Linked DNA regions of Homo sapiens: region 1 is linked to region 2. Evidence: promoter capture Hi-C in 16 types of primary human blood cells and fetal thymus (Javierre and others, 2016). All regions are on one chromosome and are shown on one strand. The core of a region is centred on a gene start or on the middle of the fragment in contact, and the rest is flanking DNA. Distances in the headings are between cores, read along the strand shown.

Region 1 (5,458 bases), core at 2,682-5,181, 490 kb before region 2:
GAACTTGGCACAGAGCGGAGGGAGCACAGCCTGACAGCTGGACTGGGACCAGTCTACGACTTGTCTGTTCTGGTGCCCTCGCTCTTGTCCTCCTCCCCAGCTCCTGTCTGCTCACAGTGCTGGTGACTATCTCCAAAGACACCTGGCCAAATGCTGTCAGAACTGGGCCTGAAGGTGCTCAGAGAGAAGGCCAGGCATGGCTTTGGCGTGGAGAGGATGCACCTCTGGTAGCTGGACCAGGTCAGGTCTGTGGGGAGTGTGTGCTCTGGAACAGCCACCCTTTCTGATATGTTTCTTCCAAAGCGTCTTGGAACTAGAAATAGAAGTGATGAGGGTGCCCCTCTCTCTCATCAAAATGCCTGTTTCCTGTGCAGGCGGCTCTGGGTTTTGATTGTGTGTCTGGTGGTTTTAGAATGGAAGGGAGGAGCAAATCCATCAGGAGGCACCATTGTGGTTCCACTGGAAACTGGGACTGGCCATCTGGGGATCTTTGACACACGCAGACACACACACACACACCATGGGTAGAACCCACACCCCCGTGAAGGACCTCTTACATCATTGTACCCAGTGGTCGATGTTGCTGGAAGCCTGCTGAGATGCCTTACAGCCATGGCTCAGCCCTCAAGAAGAAGGCTTAGGTCAGTCTGTCAGGCAAAGAATCCTGACTGAATAAGAATCGGGCAGGAGACCTGCAGAACACAGAAATAAGGCGTTAGAGGATGGAATTCGCTAGTACCTTCTAGGAGTTTGTGACCAATTGCAAAAATAAAGACTGCAGTCCCTCCCTGTCTTTCCTTGCTTGTTACTAGAGTTGTTGAAGATTAAATAGTTGACCATTTCCCCCTTTAAGAAAATATGAATCACAATTTGAAAATGTTTTTGTTATCTTTCCTTTTCCTTTCACCTAACATTTATGTGTGTATGTATTTTTTTGAGAGGGAGTCTTGCTCTGTCGCTGGAGTGTAGTGGCGTGATCTCGGCTCACTGCAACCTCCGCATTCCAGGTTCAAGCGCTTCTCCTGCCTCAGCCTCCTGAGTAGCTTGGATTATAGGCGCGCGCCACCATACCCAGCTAATTTTTATATTTTTAGTAGAGACGGGGTTTCACCATGTTGGTCAGGCTGGCCTTGAACTCCTGACCTTGTGATCTGCTTGCCTCGGCCTCCCAAAGTGCTGGGATTACAGGCGTGAGCCACCACGCTGGGCCTATTTTTTTTTTTTTTTTTTTGAGACGGAGTCTCACTCTGTTGCCCAGGCTGGAGTGCAGTAGCGGGATCTCGGCTCACTGCAACCTCCACCTCCCGGGTTCAAGCAACTCTCCTGCCTCAGCCTCCCGAATAGCTGGGATTACAGGTGCCCATCACCATGCCCAGCTGATTTTTGTATTTTTAGTAGAGATGGGGTTTCACCATGTTGGTCAGGCTGGTCTTGAACTCCTGACCTCAGGTGATCCACCCGCCTCAGCCTCCCAAAGTGCTGGGATTACAGGTGTGAGCCACCGCACCCGGTCACCTAACATTTATAATAGTGGTGTTTCTCAGCCTTTCATGTGCATTCAAATCACCTGGGAATCTTGTTGCCAACCTGAGATTCTTGGGCCTGAGATTATGCATTCCCGTTAAGCTTCTGGGTGGTGCCAATGTCTCACTCTGAGTAGCAAGAGTTCAAAGGATTTGGTGATGGTAAAAGTAACCCTTTAATTCAGTTAAATGACCAGATGGGATCAATCACCTTGAAGATCTTGAAATAATAGTAGCCTCATGACATCAAGTGTGAAGGTGACTGTTGGTACTTGTCTGGTGAAGACAACTTTGGAGGAATGGGAAGAAGGACTGGCGTGTGTCGGGACACATGTGTGCACATGGACACATGTGAGTTTGTGTACATGGGACAGCTAAGGGATGGATCCGTAGTAGACAGCCTTTTTTTTTTTTTTTTTTTGAGATGGAGTCTGGCTCTCTTGCCCAGGCTAGAGTGCAATGGCACGATCTCGGCTCACTGCAACCTCTGCCTCCCACGTTCAAGTGATTCTTCCGCCTCAGCCTCCCGAGTAGCTGGGATTACAGGCACCTGCCATCATGCCAGGCTAATTTTTGTACTTTGGTAGAGATAGGGTTTCACCATGTTGGCCAGACTGGTCTCGAACTCCTGACCTCAGGTGATCCACCTGCCTCTGCCTCCCAAAGTGCTGGGATTACAGGCATGAGCCACCGCCCCTGGCCGACAGTCTTTGGACTGGCTGTTCAGGTCATGATTCTCCTCCTCTGGGAGTGTCTCTCAACGGGGAAAAGTGGACTGACATGTTTGTATCACAAAGCACTTTCTGCCCTGGCCATAGCTGATTGACCGTGGCCTGATCTGGACTAATAAGATTCTTTTTTTCTGGGAATCGGGAACTTTGAACCAAGAGACATCCAATCTGGCAGTTTTGATTCTGATTAATGGCAATGATCTAGAAAGAAGATCCCTAAACTGATACTGCTACAGTTGTCCCTTAAAGCCTCCCCTGATCTCTGCCCTTCCTGAGCCTTGAGGAATTCAACTCCTCCTTGAATCCCCTGAGGTGCCCCACTGGGTATATGCGCCCACTCCTCATTTTCCTTGTTACCTACGTGAGTTTGCTTTCTAAATAATCACAGGTAACACAGAACTCCTTCCAGAAGTGGCTCCATCTGCTTCAATAAAAGGCAGTCCTGGCCTCACAGTCTCATTTCCAACCCAAATGTCCACGTAATTTTCAGACCGAGGCTTCTGCTCAAGCCGGGCACCCCACTACCCACACCTCCTTGTTCACCTATGGCTCCCACTTCTACTGAACTGCGCGATCACTGTGATTTTGGGGGTGGCAACAGGGCCTAGGAAACATTTTAGAGGCACTTCTCTTGCCTGAAAGAAAACGTTCTTCCCCTTTTTGTCTCTGATGAATCTTTACTGGATCTTTGGGACCCAGCTGAGTCATCCCGACCTGCAGACTGGACTCCCATCCCCAGGCTTAAATTCCTTTCCAAGGGCTCTGTCTGTCCTCTCGGCTTAGCTTCTGTGTTAAAACCCCCTCCATCTGCGTCTCCTCCCCAGCAGAATGAGCTCCTTGAAGTCAGGGCCCGCCTTCTGCTCCTCTCTGTGCTCCACTCCCCCAGTTCAGCACAGTGCTCCCAGGGAGGTGTAAGCGACTTACGGTGAATGAAAGGGCGTGAAGGGGAACAGGAGGGGCGGTTTTCTTCATTTACCAGAAATTCAAAATTGACCAAGTAAACCCCTTTGGAGACCAGGCACGATGCTGGGCACTGGGAACGGGGGTAGGGGTGGGGGGTGGGGGGGTGGTAGGGAGGAGGGGGTACCCAGGGTACCCACGGGCTCTGTCGCCCGTGGGGAAGGATGGGCATTTACCCTTCCCATTCATCAGGATGGGAGGGCCACGGACTCCCCCCACGGCAGTGCCGGGTAGACCCCTGCACCACACCGTGCCAAGGCCCTTTCTCACAGTCACGCCAGGAACTCTAGCCATGCTCTGACTTCTCAAGCAGAGTTCAGTCACCCCGAGGAGGTGGGACCCGTCTCTCTCCTCCCCACAAATGAACCAGTTCTCCAGTGATCCTACTTCCTTTTTTCCCTCTCCCACGCTAAAACTGGTCACGAGGGACCTAAAGGAGGGGCAGGCACCCAGGCGGCTCCCTTCCCCGCACGCATCGCGGCCAGTCCAGCCCCTCCCGGCCGCCCACGGGACCCCAGCCGAGCCTGAGCCAGGCGCCCACCGCCCCCACGCGCAGGGCCGGCGCCCGCGGAAGACTCGGCTCTCCCTGGCCTCGACGCCGCTCCCCTCCCTGGCGCCAGGGGGCGCTGCCTCCCCACGACCGTCGCCATGGTCACCGCTGGCGGCGGAGAGGGGTTTACGTAAAGGACGCAGCGTCCCCCGGGGGGCGGAGGCGGCCTTCGCGCCGGCGCCGGCGCCCTGCGGAAGCGGCGTTAGTGAATCGGGGCCTTGGGGAGCCCAGGATGGAGGTGGCGGTCGCGGCGGCGGGCCGAGCCCTGCGGCGGGCGGGAGGTAAGGGGGGCCTCCGGCGCGGCGGGCCGGTCCTGGGCGCGGGCGCGGTGCGAGCGGCGCGGCGGGCTGGGCAGTGTCCAGGGCGCGCGGTGGCCGGCCCGACGGGTCGGCGGGCGGAGTTGCAGCTGCCACGCGCGCCCGTGGCAGGTGTGAGGTCTGTGGAGCCCCTGGCACCAGCGTGGGGATGGTGACACGCGTGGCACGGGCGTGGGCAACGTGGGTCCGGCACAGGCGGCGTGGTTTTCCTGGAACGGGTCTCAGAAGACTCGCCTCCACCTTGGTGCGGTGGTGGCCACGCAGGTGTGAGGTGGTGCAGCTGTCTGCACAGGTAGGTGATGGGCACGGCCTTCGGACTGGTTATGGGATAGGTGGCCAGCTCGTGCCGGCATGGTGGTGCCGCTAGCATGGGTGTGAGGAAGTGCTGCCATTGCTTGGGTGTTGGGATGGTTCTGGCCTTGGGCTTGACATGATCTGGGGTGATAGCACTGGGGGCTTGAAGAATTGGTGTTCTCAGCATGGCTAGAGTTCCTGGCATGACTGTGAGAAAGGGCCTTGGCACGGTGTGGTGCGGGGGGCTACCCGGCACTGCCGCGGGGGGAGTCCGTGGCCCTCCCATCCTGATGAATGGGAAGGGTAAATGCCCATCCTTCCTCACGGGCGATGAAGGGGACACTGCCTCTGTCATGGGGGTCCAGTTTTAATGCCTGTTGGGTACACTGGACTGAGGAGGGCAGAAGGCTGGGAGAAGGTTGGTGTCCTTTATAATGGGCATAAACAAGAGATGCCAGGAGAAGCTTCTACCACAAGGGCCCTGATGGTAACCCAGATAGAGACCTTCCAGGCACTACCGTTGTCCTGGGCTAAGGTAGAGAGAACCATTCATCTAGCTTTTCATCTAGCTTTGGGAATGAAGGGAGGGGTGGATGATTTTCAGTGGTGATCGGTGTCCCAGAATATGTCCTGAGAAGCAAGCAGGACCAAGAGGTAACCCGGGTCAGCGAGTGAGGGAGTGGTATGGCGCACCATCTATCTGTAGTCACGGGGTCCTGCCTTCTCCCTGGGTTGATGGGTTCACTCCAGGGTATCTGGGAGTTGCCTCTCTTCTTTGATGCTGGGGAGCCTTTGGGTCCAGAGGATTGGATCGATTGGGGTATGCTTGAAAGATGATTCTGCAGCCACTGGGAATCTGCTGGGGCCACCGGGACTCCCACCCCCAGGCTTAAATTCCTTTCCAAGGGCTCTGTCTGTCCTCTCTGCTTAGCTCCTATGTTAAAACCCCTCCATCTGCGCTGAGATTGTGTTTGCTCTCACCAGTCCTTTGGGAAGCTTTGGGTGAAGGTCTCACTCAGCATCACCTAGTGCCTTACTTTACAGAGAAGCAATTTGCAGCTCCTCCTAGAGAAGTCTTACAGT
Region 2 (4,930 bases), core at 328-2,827:
TTAATTTGCACTTTAAATATGCCCATTCCTCTGCTATTATGATATAGGAAAGTTGATAGTATCAGATTAATTTCAGGTGAACTATTCTACCTATAAAAGAATAGGAGCTAATAGGAGCTCCTATAAAAGAACAGGAGCTAATAACCCATGAAAGCTATGACGGTTTTTTTTTTTTTTGGATCTCTATTCTTCCTGCCAGCTCTGCCCCTGGCCTGGCAGGATTGGTTGAGTGGGGAATTGGTCCTTGAGAATTGGAGTAAGGGATCTTGAGGAATGTGTTTAGTGTCTTTGAGTTGTGATTTGAGAATAACAGAGGCAGGAGCCCTCTGCAGGGCTCCTGTCCTACTTGCCCCTGGGACACTGTAATAAGACAAGTATGGATTATGCCCAGTGAGGACTCCTATAACTAATTATTTAACTCAGAAAGTGCCCCAGAGGTGCTGGGGGTGCAGCAGAAAGGACTGGAGGGGTGCAGCCACTACTGCGGGAATGGTAGGGAAAGGGGCTAGGGGCTAGGGGCTAGAGGCCTTCTGCCCCAGTTATCTTATGTGGTGTTTTTTGTTTTGTTTTGTTTTGTTTTGTTTTGTTAGTTTGTTTGTTTGTTTTTTGAGAAGGAGTCTCGCTCTGTCACCCAGGCTGGAGTGCAGTGGCATGATCTCGGCTCACTGCAACCTCTGCCTCCTGAGTTCAAGCTATTCTCCTGCCTCAGCCTCCCGAGTAGCTGGGCTTACAGGCATCCGCCACCATGCCTGGCTAATTTTTGTGTTTTCAGTAGAGATGGGGTTTCTCCATGTTTGTCGGCCAGGCTGGTCTCGAACTCCTGACCTCAGGTGATCTACCTACCCTCCGCCTCCCAAAGTGCTGGGATTACAGGCTTGAGTGACTGCACCTGGCCCAAGTTATCTTACAGTGTCATTGTTTGCATGTTTGTGATGGCCCTAGACTTAACAGATAGAGAGCAGGCTCTATGGCTTAGAGAAAGACAGAAAACAGACAGTGATTGATTTAGGGTATGTAGGTAATGTGTAAGCCCAGGGCAGTGATGGTGGCTTCATCTGGTCAGAATTTCATCAAAGACACCTCTCGGGGCTAAAAAAGACCAGACTTTTTTTTTCTTTTTTCTTTTTTTTTGCTACTTGGGCAACACTGGCTTGATCTAGGTGACCTCTACGTTCCCTAGATGGACAACTTGTGTGGCCCCCAAACCTCTCCGTCTTACCCCAGTACCCCTTATTATCCTCAGCTACCATGCCACTCTCTTCAATCCCAGCAACCAGTCCTCACCTACTTCTGTAGGAGACCTCCACAGGGAGGAGCCTTACCATGAAGGTGATTGCAGTGTTTTTAATGAAAGGGGCCAAGAAAATGTGGCAATGAGGTCCTGTTCCTACGAGCTCCACTCTCCGGATTGAGACAGTGACACTTGTGGGAGCAGGACCCACTGAGGCCCAGTCCGAGGGCTCAGGTGGGAGAGCATCCACTGTGGCACTGCCGCGCTCGGGACCAGGGGCTGCTGGCCTTCAACAGTTGTGTCTCACGTTCTACTGAAGCAGATTGAGGAGAGTGACTCGGGCAGAGAATGCAGGGTGTTCTCTGTCTCCCTCCAGTAGACTAAGGCGTGTTAGTCTACATGAGGTCAACATGCAGACTGCAATGCAGGGAATCCTCTCTCATTCCTCGGGTAGGAGGGCAGGGCTGGGAATTACAACAGGGACCTCCCCTAATTGTCCGCCACCTGCCTGGAGTCACTTAGCAAAAAATAAAAATAATAAAAATCTGTGTTTGGCCCTGATGTGGACTCTACAGCTCCTTTTGCCACTCCCTGTGTCAGGGCCAAGGAGATGGGGTTTGTTGTCCAGCTCTGTCTAACCACTTCCCGGGGAATAGTCTGGGAATATGGATGACAACCTTTAATCGCAAAGTGCCTACTGTGTGTGAGGCACTGGGCGAGTTGAGTTGCGTTGGCCATAACCTTCAATCGCATTTGCTGATTGAGGGGTGATATTATCTTCATCTTCATTTTAAGTCTCTGGAAAGTGACACTCAAAGAGTTAAAGCAACCTCAAGCCCAAGGTTGTGTGGAGTGTGCAGTCGGGCAGGAAGCTCCACTGGACTTCGAAGGTGTTGCTCTAAGGCAAGCCTGCTACGACGCATGTCAAGACATCAGAAATGTTAAGAGGCTTCCCTCCATTGCCTCTTGTTGGCCAAAAGCACCCAGACTTTTCTGATGCCAGTGGGGACTTCCCAGTCCTTGCCCTGGCAAAGTAGGGCCCTCTCCCAGACTGCTATTTCCCACCCGGGGTTTCTGGTCCCTGGCCGCAGGACGTGGGATCTGGTATCACTGATGGAGCTGTACAGATGACATGTCCCAGAAGTGCAGGGAATTGAAGTTCATGGGGTGAACTTTGGCCAATGGGAAACAGGAGGCAGGAGGGGTCTGGGCAGGTGAATTCTGCCAGCTTTGTCTCTGATGCTGGACCCCGGCATTGTTTCTCCTTGCCGCCTATGTGGAGAAATCCCACCTGCTGAGCAAACGACTGTGTCTCTTGATGCCTAGGTGTAAAATAACCATCACTTCACATTTTCTTCATATCTGTCCTGTCTCACTTCCCTTTTGTCAGGTTCCTGTGAGGCCAGGGGAGATCTGGTGGGACAGGGAGAACAGCAGGGGTACACAGGGTCCTGGGGTTTGGCAGAGAAAGGGAGTGGCCAAAGGAGCTGTAGAGTACGTGAGGGTCAAACACAGAGTTGTATTATTTTTACTTTTTGCTAAGCACCTCTAGGCAGCTGGGGGACTTTCGGGGCTCTGTAACTTTGGATATTGGGAACTTTACTGGTCAGGCCCTAATGACCAGATTCTCATACCTGAGCTGCACATTGATAAGGCACAGTGAAGTGGATATCCCGCCCTTTGGGCCTCCAGGCCAGTTCCTCTTGGGAACTGCCCAGGACTCTCGTTCTGCCCAGGACTGAGCCCTGACTCAGGATGTCACTGTTAGAGAGAAGGGCAGAGAGGGGCTCACTACCGTTGACTGTTGCTGTTTTCTGCTTAGCTGGCTGGATATCCACCTCCTCTTTGAACTTCTTCAGACCCTCAAAATCAGCACCCTTGAAATCAGGGTCCTTGAAATCAGGAGTCTCAACACTGGGAGAGGACCCAAAAGGACCAGTAGCAGCTGGGAAGTCAGCTCTGGAGCCCTCAAAGAAGCTTTGCTTGACTCAACTACCTTTTTGCACATGGAGGTGGGAAGAAAAGAGTTAGGCACATTTATCATGATGGGGGAATGGCCATTGTGCCTTGTCCAGGGAACAATGCACACAGAGCATGAGCCCACCTGTGCAGCAAGATGCTGATATCCAGGTATCTGTGTCTGGATGGATGGGAAAAGACTTGACCCCATGAGCCCAGCAAGTTAACACTGGTTGTATATGGGTGACTTCTATGGGCTTTTCTTTATTTCCCCAAATTTATTTTATTTATTTATTTAGAGACAGGGTTTCACTTCAGTTGCCCAGGCGGGAATGCAGGGGCATGATCACGGCTCGTTGTGGCCTCAACCTCCCAGGCTCAAGCAATCTTCCTGCCTCATTTTTTTGATTTTTTGTAGAGATGAGGTCTCACTATGTCACTGAGGCTGGTCTCCAACCCCTGGGCTCAAGTGATCCCCCTGCCTCAGCTTCCCAAAGTGCTGGGATTACAGGCATGAGCCATTGCACCCAACCCTGTATTTCCCAAAATTTCTAAAGAATGGCGGGCACAGTTTGAGACCAGCCTGAGTGACATAACAAGACCCTGTCTGTATTTATTAAAACAAACAAAATAATAAAGTCTCCAAGACACACAGGCTTGCCTAATAACTTTAATTTGTTTGGAAAAGCCCTGCCCTCTAAGTGAAAAGCTGTCACATGAAAAAAATATTGCCATTACTTTGTTCAATTCTTTTATTGCAGTAAAATACACAAAACATGAAAATTACCATCTTAATCGTTTTTTTAAATAATTTTAAAATGTATATATCAGTGGTATTAAATACATTTTGTAATTTTGTGCAACCATTACTGCCATCTATCTCCAGAGTGCTTTTCATCTTGCAAAACTGAAAAGTTATACCCATTAAACAATAATTTCCTATTCCTCCCTCCCCCGTCCCCTGGCAATCACCATTCTACTCTCTGTTTCTATGATTTTGACTATTTTACATACATATAAGTGGAATCATACGTTATTTGTCTTTTTTTATGTAACTGACTTATTGCACTTAACATGTCTTCAAGATTTATTCATGTTGTAGCATGTAGTTTTCCTTCCTTTTTAAGGCTAGATAATATTCCCTTGTATGTATGTACTATATTTTGATTATTCATGTGTCTGTTGATGGACACTTGGGTTGCTTCTGTGTTTTATTGTGAATAATGCTGCTGTGAACATGGATGTACAAATCTTTTTTTGAGACTCTGCTTTCAATTATTTTGTGTATACCCTGAAGGGGAATTGCTGGATCATGTGGTAACTCTATTTTTACTCTATTTCTGGCCTTTCTATTTTATTCCATTGGTCTACATGGCTGTCTTTATGCCAGTACCACATTGTTTTGATTACTGTCACTTTGTAGCAAGTTCTCCAGCTTTGTTCCGTCTTTTCAAGATTGCTTTCACTATTTGGGGTTCCTTGATATTCCATATGGATTTTATAATTGTTTTTTCTATTTCTGGAAAAACCATTTTTGGGATTTTGATAGGGATTGCATTGAATCTTTGGGTAGTATTGACATCTTAACAACATTAAGTCTTCTGTTCTCTTGCCTCAGGCGTCCCACGTCCACCGATTCCTCCTCCCTCGTTGCTGAGTCCTTGGCTGGCATCAGAAAAATGGCTACAAACTTCTCAGTATATGAGAAGATCTGGTTTGACAAGTTCAAATATGACATTG

The links. The method cuts DNA at HindIII sites, captures the fragments that hold promoters and counts their contacts. A CHiCAGO score of 5 or more calls a contact.
Region 1: a contact is called between the fragment with the promoter of DAGLA here and a fragment that was not itself captured in region 2, in 1 of 17 cell types (neutrophils). The highest score is 5.9, in neutrophils.

The regions. Positions count from the first base shown.
Region 1 is chr11:61,676,460-61,681,917 of GRCh38, forward strand. DAGLA (diacylglycerol lipase alpha) reads left to right here and starts at 3,932. Exons shown (of 20, transcript NM_006133.3): 1 at 3,932-4,045. The HindIII fragment of the contact is 3,213 bases long and covers 1,625-4,837 here.
Region 2 is chr11:62,164,424-62,169,353 of GRCh38, forward strand. It overlaps the pseudogene EEF1DP8. Among named protein-coding and RNA genes, the nearest start is that of SCGB1D1, 23 kb to the right of the region's middle. The HindIII fragment of the contact is 3,257 bases long and covers 1-3,206 here.